Linked DNA regions of Homo sapiens: region 2 is linked to region 1. The links are contacts of gene promoters, found by promoter capture Hi-C in blood cells and fetal thymus (Javierre and others, 2016). All regions are on one chromosome and are shown on one strand. The core of a region is centred on a gene start or on the middle of the fragment in contact, and the rest is flanking DNA. Distances in the headings are between cores, read along the strand shown.

What was found. Contacts are between HindIII fragments. The CHiCAGO score rates a contact against its expected background, and 5 or more counts as called.
Region 2: a contact is called between the fragment with the promoter of KRTAP22-2 here and the fragment with the promoter of KRTAP20-3 in region 1, in 6 of 17 cell types (neutrophils, total B cells, naive B cells and 3 more). The highest score is 11.4, in neutrophils.

What each region holds. Positions count from the first base shown.
Region 1 is chr21:30,639,666-30,644,268 of GRCh38, forward strand. It overlaps KRTAP20-3 (keratin associated protein 20-3), which reads left to right and starts at 3,199. Exons shown (of 1, transcript NM_001128077.1): 1 at 3,199-3,471. The coding sequence starts at 3,224. The coding sequence ends at 3,358. The HindIII fragment of the contact is 10,269 bases long and covers 1-4,603 here.
Region 2 is chr21:30,587,818-30,592,078 of GRCh38, forward strand. KRTAP22-2 (keratin associated protein 22-2) reads right to left here and starts at 2,580. Exons shown (of 1, transcript NM_001164434.1): 1 at 2,288-2,580. The coding sequence starts at 2,557. The coding sequence ends at 2,420. The HindIII fragment of the contact is 4,540 bases long and covers 1-2,889 here.

The sequences.
Region 1 (4,603 bases), core at 1,949-4,448:
GGTTGAACTAGTTTACAGTCCCACCAACAGTGTAAAAGTGTTCCTGTTTCTCCACATCCTCTCCAGCACCTGTTGTTTCCTGACTTTTTAATGATCGCCATTCCAATTGATGTGAGATGGTATCTCATTGTGGTTTTGATTTGCATTTCTCTGATGGCCAGTGATGATGAGCATTTTTTCATGTGTCTGTTGGCTGCATAAATGTCTTCTTTTGAGAAGTGTCTGTTCATATCCTTTGCCCACTTGTTGATGGGGTTGTTGGTTTTTTCTTGTAAATTTGTTTGAGCTCTTTGTAGATTCTGGATATTAGCCCTTTGTCAGATGAGTAGATTGCAAAAATTTTCTCCCATTCTATAAGTTGCCTGTTCACTCTGATGGTAGTTTCTTTTGCTGTGCAGAAGCTCTTTAGTTTAATTAGATCCTATTTGTCAATTTTGGCTTTTGTTGCCATTGCTTTTGGTGTTTTAGACATGAAGTCCTTGCCCATGCCTACGTCCTGAATGGTATTGCCTAGGTTTTCTTCTAGGGTTTTTATGGTTTTAGGTCTAACATTTAAGTCTTTAATCCATCTTGAATTAATTTTTGTATAAGGTGTAAGGAAGGGATCCAGTTTCAGCTTTCTACATATGGCTAGCCAGTTTTCCTAGCACCATTTATTAAATGGGGAATCCTTTCCCCATTTCTTGTTTTTGTCAGGTTTGTCAAAGATCAGATAGTTATAGATATGCGGCATCATTTCTGAGGGCTCTGTTCTGTTCCATTGGTCTGTATCTCTGTTTGGGTACCAGTACCATGCTGTTTTGGTTACTGTAGCCTTGTAGTATAGTTTGAAGTCAGGTAGCATGATGCCTCCAGCTTTGTTCTTTTGGCTTAGGATTGACTTGGCAATGTGGGCTCTTTTTTGGTTCCATATGAACTTTAAAGTAGCTTTTTCCAATTCTGTGAAGAAAGTCATTGGTAGCTTGATGGGGATGGCATTGAATCTATAAATTACCTTGGGCAGTATGGCCATTTTCACAATATTGATTCTTCCTACCCATGAGCATGGAATGTCCTTCCATTTGTTTGTATCCTCTTTTTTCACTGAGCAGTGGTTTGTAGTTCTCCTTGAAGACGTCCTTCACATCCCTTGTCAGTTGGATTCCTAGGTATTTTATTCTCTTTGAAGCAATTGTGAATGGGAGTTCACTCATGATTTGGCTCTCTGTCTTTTATTGGTGTATAAGAATGCTTGTGATTTTTGCACATTGATTTTGTATCCTGAGATTTTGCTGAAGTTGCCTATCAGCTTAAAGTATCTCAAAATAATAAGAGCTAGCTATGACAAACCCACAGCCAATATCATACTGAATGGGCAAAAACTGGAAGCATTCCCTTTGAAAACTGGCACAAGAGAGGGATGCCCTCTCTCACCACTCCTATTTAACATAGTGTTGGAAGTTCTGGCCAAGGCAATCAGGCAGGAAAAGGAAATAAAGGGTATTCAGTTAGGAAAAGAGGAAGTCAAATGTTCCCTGTTTGCAGATGACGTGATTGTATATCTAGAAAACCCCATCATCTCAGCCCAAATTTTCTAGCCCTCTTATTCAGAAAGTTGAGCATACACACCAGCTCTCTGTCATCAAGTGAAGGTGGGGAACATAAGGTTGGGCTTAAGGGAGTTGTGAAAGCACAAACAACTTACAGAAGCAATTGGCTTGGATTCTCATGGTTTCCTCTCTGCTGAGTTGTCTCTTCTTTCTCAACATACACCTATGAATTTATGCTGATTTTCCAGTTGGAGAAGGAAAAATTAGTCCTGGATTATAGATGGTTCTGCCAATATGGTAGCACTGCCTAAAAGTGGATGACTGAAGTACAACAGATCAAATCGGGGATTACCCTAAAGGTCAGTGGTGAAGGAAAATTTTCAATTATTTTTAATCATCTTAAGAAATGATAGTATCTAGATTCAGCCTGCCTTTGAGAACTTAAGTCTACATATAAGTACATGATACAGACAGAGTCAATATCCCTACAGAAAAATTAATAGTCATGCCTTCTGTTATATTTGGGTCTCAAAAATGTCTACTTTACGTTCCTGTGACTTTGGAATCAGATAAGATTCTCAATGCTTTTCTTTTCTCCGAAGAAACATATCTACATTGCAGTGCAGGTACAAGATAATCAACCAAACAACTTTTTAAAGAATGCTTAAGGTGTGGAGAAGAAGGAACTAAACAGGCAAGAAAAGGGCACTACTTTTAAGAGAGCATAGCAATAGGAAAACTACAGAATAATATGTGATTGGTGGGAGTTTGTACAGAATAAATCACAGTTGATCCTTGAACAATGCAGGGATTAGGAGTGCCAACCTCCACGCAGTTGAAAATCTGAGTATAACTTTTGACTCCCCAAAAACTTAACTACTAATAGCCTACTGTTGACCAGAAGCCTTACCAATAACATAAACAGTTGATTAATACATGCTTATGTTACCTGTAATGAGAGATTATACTCCTATAATAAAGTAGGCTAAAGAAAAGAAAATTTTATTAAGAAAATAAAGAAAAAGAGAAAATGGATTTACTATTCACTAAGTGGAAGTGGATCATCATAAAGGTCTTCAGCCTTATTGTCTTCATGTTGAGTAGGTTGAGGAGGAGAAGGAGGAGGAGGGGTTGGTCTTGCTGCCGGAGTGGCAGAGGTGAAGAAAATCTGCTTAATATAAGCGTATCTGTGCAGTTCAAACTCATGGTATTCAAGAGTCCACTGTATTTGCTACTAAGTTTTATAGCGATAACATCACAGCTGTGTTGATTAAGATTTAAATATGCATATAAGAAGAAGGGTATTATTAGCAAAGTGATCGGAAGAGGATGGCATTTGCCTCCTCCACGTGATGTCATCCAACATAGCTACAAAGGTTAAATTCGGCATCAGTGTGAGTAAGGTCATGGAACTCAGTATTTTTTTTTCCTTTAAAGTCTATCAGCTGTTTGGCAGGATCATAACATACTGAGAAGAAAATCTCAATTTTATCAGGATAGGGAGTCTTTTTTTAAAATCTAAAGATACAAGATTAATGAGATTTTTAAATACAGGTTGGTCTATATGACAATGTCAGGAGTGCCTGTGGTTTGTCACACCTCCACTGAGACTGATAAAAGACCCAGTATTTTAGTGTTTTTATGCACTAAAACTTATGCTGGCCTCTCAGGCTAGAGACTTAAATCCTGACACAATGAGCTACTATGGCAACTACTACGGAGGACTGGGCTATGGCTATGACTGTAAATATAGTTATACCTCTGGCTTTGGTGCCTTTAGAATCCTGGACTGTGGCTACAGATGTGGCTGTGGTGGGGTATGGATTTGACTGCTGCCACCAATATGATTATGCTACATGCTTATTATCAGGCACTGACTGAATAATATCTACAATTGGGTCCATTTTCTTATGAGACAGGGGTGCTGTTCTACTACACTTTTTTTAATTTGTTTAACCCAATTAGAATTCTTAATGATTCCCTATAATCCCAGCACTTTAGGAGGCCGAGGCGGGTGGATCACCTGGGGTTAGGAGTTCGAGACCAGCCTGGCCAACATGGCAAAATCCCATCTCTACTAAAAGTTAAAAAAATAGCCAGGTGTGGTGGTGGGTGCCTGTAGCCCCAGCTACTGGGGAGGCTGAGGCAGGAGGATCACTTGAACCCAAAGGCAGAGGTTGCAGTCAGCCGAGATGGCACCACTGCACTCCAGCCTGAGCAACAAAATGAGATTCCATCTCAAAAAAACAAAAATAATGCTTAGTTATTCAATCTAATTCTAGGCAAAGAACACACATCATTAAATTCACACTAAATCCACATCAGTGCCCCAGATTAACTACATTTTTCTCTTCCAAACTGATGTGTTTTCATAATTTACCAAGCAAATTACTTTTTGATATGTTTCAGGAGTAGGGAGCTCTAGGTTTATTTTTAATTAAACTTACTTTGGCCAGGCCAATGTCATTCATTTTTTAAATTTATTAATTACTCACTTGTTTAATAAGTCCTCATTAAGTAATTTCTATATAGGGCTTCCTGTTAAGTCTTAGTGTTACTTATGGGAGAAGAGTTTTTAAGCAGAAAAACAAATGTTTAAATAAACATGTATGCTACAACATGATAGGTGATGTAATAGCCACGTAGGAACACAGAGGAGAAGCTCATGTTTGGATGCAAAAGAGCGAGATTGTAGAGCAAACAGATCAAAAATATTCTCATTGAAGGTTACATTTGAATAAATTTTTAACCAACGAAAAATACATTGGAGGTAAAGTGTATGCCAGGCAGGGGAAACAAATATGCAAAGCCATGAAAAAAGTATTGCACTGCAAAGTCATAAATTGATGTTATTTCTTGAGAGAACAGTGGGCAAAGTCACTGGCAGGAAATGAAGCCCTGGGCAGTGAAGAGAAACTAGAACATCAAGGCCATATATATTTTGCAATGGGTGTACTGGATAATGTTTTATAAAGTTGTAATATTTTCCTTTACCTGGATGAGATTGGAAACTATTATTCTAAGTGAAGTAACTCAGGAATGGAAAACCAAACATCGTATGTTCTCACTGATAT
Region 2 (4,261 bases), core at 1,330-3,829, 52 kb before region 1:
TCTTGTGTAACTGACTTTTGCAATGGAGGAAAGAGTTAATATTTTTATAAAATAAAGTCAATCAATAACTTAGAGTGATTGGATTTTACATTTTCAGTAGGCAGGTCACTCCTAGAATTTTAGCAATGTTAATATTTATTTTCTTATGTTTAGATATTTATTACCCCTGAAAATCATGGTTGTTACTGGAAGAAAAAAATATTTTTTCACACACACACACAAAAATACATAAACACAAACACTTTCTCAAAATGCTGGACAGTTCTTACATTATGTACCAAAATGTCCATCTTTTTTCCCCCTGGAATTTCTGTATTAATTAATTTTCTGTCCTATGATAGTGCCGTAGTTTTAAATCTCTCATCTCATTTCACTGTTTCAGTTTTTAATTCATTCCTAATATGTATATAGTAAAGTGCACTAATCCTACATATACAACTTAATGGATTTTTATATATGTATACACTCATATAACCATTAGCTAGATCAAAATACAAAACATTTCCTCCACCCAGAAGATTCCACTGTGCCCTTTCTTATCCAATACTCTCCTGCCCAGAGGTACCACTATTCTCACTTTTATTACTGATTAGTTTGTTCTTTTTTTGAACTTCCCATAACTAAATAAATAACAACATATGATGAGTATATTTTGTACCGATATGCATGTTGTTTCATTTTTGATACATAATTTTTTATTGATTTTTAAATCTGGTGTTCCAAACTGCCATAATGAAAGCATTGATACCCATTTGCACAATAAGTTAATAATTATGAAATACTATACAAAATATAGCAACCTCCGTCATTCTAGAGCACTAACTTGTATTGAGAATCAGAACTGTGTACAGGACTAAACACAAATTTTCAATCCTGCACAATCTCACCAAGAATCTTTCAGCTTTACCTTTCTAAAAGTTGATTTAATTTGGCATGACTGCAATAGAAATTAAAATGTTTAACCTTTAAATTTGTTAATCCATTAAATGGGATAATTTATGCAAATAATGAGCAGAGCCCCAACCTATATCTTAGTAAAAATGGAATCACTTCCCTCTTATTTTCATTTTTCACCAGAGGAATGATCACCAACTTCTCTGCCCAGTCACTGGTTGGGCAAGTTGGGTTGGAACTGCTAATGGATTGACTTTTTCACTCCAGGGAGGAAGGAATAGACAGCAATACAGTATTTTCACTTCCGTTTGCTTTCAGAAAGCCTGCACTTGGGGGCTGGGAGATACTTCACTAGTCTCATATTGATCTATAAAGTGTGATCCCTACGTTGATCGTTGGTAGTTCTGCTACATTTAAGAGTAGCAAATGAATTAATATGTACTATTATCTGTTTATATTTTATTCTGATTGCTTTATCATAATTAATGACTAATCATTAATAATATTTAATAAGTGGATGGAATAAACATGATAAATTATCACAGGGAGTTTCATAGAAAGTCAGCTCTCATAATTAAGACCTATCACCAGAATGCATTTGGGCCAGAAATGTGGTTTGCAAGATGTTATTCTATCCAAGTCACCACTTTAAAAAATAGTAACAGGAATTCTGCTAGAAGATGATCAGAGTTAGAAAAACTCAAAAGAGTCACTTAGATCTCTAAATGAGGTGATCTTTGCTGTGGAAACACAGGATTATCAGGCATACCAACCAGCTTCATATAGAGGATTCTTATCTATAAGAGTGAGTGAAAAGAGGTCAGAGTACTCAATGCAGGGCTGGAGTTGTATCAGTACAGAAGCACATGTTTAAATGTAGACTATTAGGAGAGAGAAAATTGCAGTAGAAAATAGCTTGGTGGGTAATAGTGCTACTGGTTTTGCCAATTACCTAGGTCAAACATTGAATTTTTCTAAAATGAAACTTGCATTAGATCAATATAGAGAACAGTATTCTTGAAACTGAACTTGAAATTACTTTTATACAAACATTTTTGGAAAAACATCAGTCATGAGTTGCCTGTTTTGTCACATCACTGACTAAAATAGCCACAGGTAGCAATTTCACTCTCTCTTTCTATTTCTCCCTTTCTCTCTCTCTCTCTCTTTCACACACACACACACACACACACACACACACAAATACACAAATGATAAAGAGAAATGAATATATATGATAAGCAATACATATTGTGAAAGTGATTATATTTATTAAAATGCAAATTTATAAGTTTTCCTGCATGGAAATTGTTAATATTATAACAGACATAAACACATAAAACTAACAAAATATCAAAGGATTTTCCCACTAACTGGTAGGAAATTCCACTAATCCAATGCAAATATGACCTGTGGTAATCAATAATTAGAGTTAGTTAAAATTGGAGAGACAATAACGAATCCATAAATAACCCTGTTGATGCAATTAGTGCATCACAAGAAAATGGCTCAAAGTGATCAGCAATCAGAATTTCTTTCTAGGAGCCAATAGGAATCTTCCATAGGAGCACGGAAAGTTGCAGGCATATCCAGAGTTACCATATTCAGAGCCATAGCTGCAACCATAGTCCAGGCTACCATAATAGTTGTGGTAGTAGCACATGGTGTCAGAAGATGGAGTTCAATTGAGGCAGATAGTAGTTTCTGAAATTTGACTCTCCTGATTTGTACAAATTATTTTATCCAACCTGAGTTATATGTGAAGGAAACCACAATCTACATTGGACTCATTCTCACAACTAATTTGCATTAAGATTAAAAAAACCCTCAAGAATCTCTTAGCCATATGTCCAGGAAAATATTAATATTGCTATGTGTCAGGATGCCAACAAGTAAAATCATGAGCCTTAAGGAGATATTCTCTTAATTTTGTGGCTTTTGCTTACTTAAAATCCCAATTTAAACTTGATGATTAGCTTCTCTGTGATCACATTAAGCTTATATTTCCTGCCTCTTGAAACATTTCTTTTTTCTTTTTCAATATCCTCCTCTACCTCCATAAATGCAGTCCTTAAACCACAGAGTGGCCAGGAATGGTTAGGGAAGGTTGGCTATGCAGTGAGGAAGCCGATGAAAATGTCTTTATTTACTTGCAAATATGCCTGTATGTTTTGACTAATTTATTTCTTAATCAATGGGACTAAAAATTTTCTTCCAAGTTCATATGTAGCTTATGTTCTTGGAGTAGTAAAGTTTTTTCTCTTCCATCATCCTCACTTTGGTTATATTATTAGTTGTGGTGTTCTCTTTGCATCTGAGAAAGCAATTAGAAACAATTACCCACCGTATCTCAAAATTCATGTTTTCCTCTCCTGACACATAATATTCACATATTTTACCTTCTTTTTATATTTAATGAATTTGCTTATTTTAAAATATATTAATTCCAAATTTCCAAAAGTATTGTAAAAATACTTTTCATCTTCTAGCAGAATTCCTGTTACTATTTTTTAAAGTGGTGACTTGGATAGAATAACATCAGCAAACCACATTTCTGGCCCAAATGCATTCTGGTGATAGCCTTAATTATGAGAGCTGACTTTCTATGAAGCTCCCTGTGATAATTTGTCACGTTTATTCCATCCACTTATTAAATATTATTAATGAATTATTAGTCATTTATTATGATAAAGCAATTAGAATAAAATATAAACAAATAATAGTACATATTAATTCATTTGCTACTCTTAAATGTAGCAGAACTACCAATGATCAACCTAGGGATCATACTTTGTAGATCAATGTGAGACTGGCAAAGTATCATATCAATAAGAGGCAAGTAGAACATTTAGTCAGAATTTCGGAACTGCACACAGTAGTTCATAAACTTTAGTGGATATATACCACCACCTTAACAATCGGAAAAGGCATGGATTCTCAAACCAGAAAAAAATCACCATGATAAATTCCTCCACTGGTTTGCATATGATCCAAAAGGATCCCAGAGTACATGAATTTATCCCCAGTTACCCCAAGCATAGAACAAAGATTGTGATTATTCTACACAGAATTTGAGTATAGAAAGTTGCATCATGTCATTCATTTGGTTATTTTTTCACTAATTCATCAAATCTTTATTAAGAATCTGCTGTATCAGGCACCGTTATAAGAAATGCAGATTGAGCAGATGAACAAAATAGACAAAGTCTCTACTTTCTGCAGGTTACAATGAGACAGAAGGGATAGAGAGACTGATTTTAAAAATGAATGAAATAGATTCTAACAGTGAAGAATCCTGTGAGAATAATAAAACTCAGTGAGTTACATTAAGTTCAGTTACTGGAGGTAGACTAATTAATATAAGGTG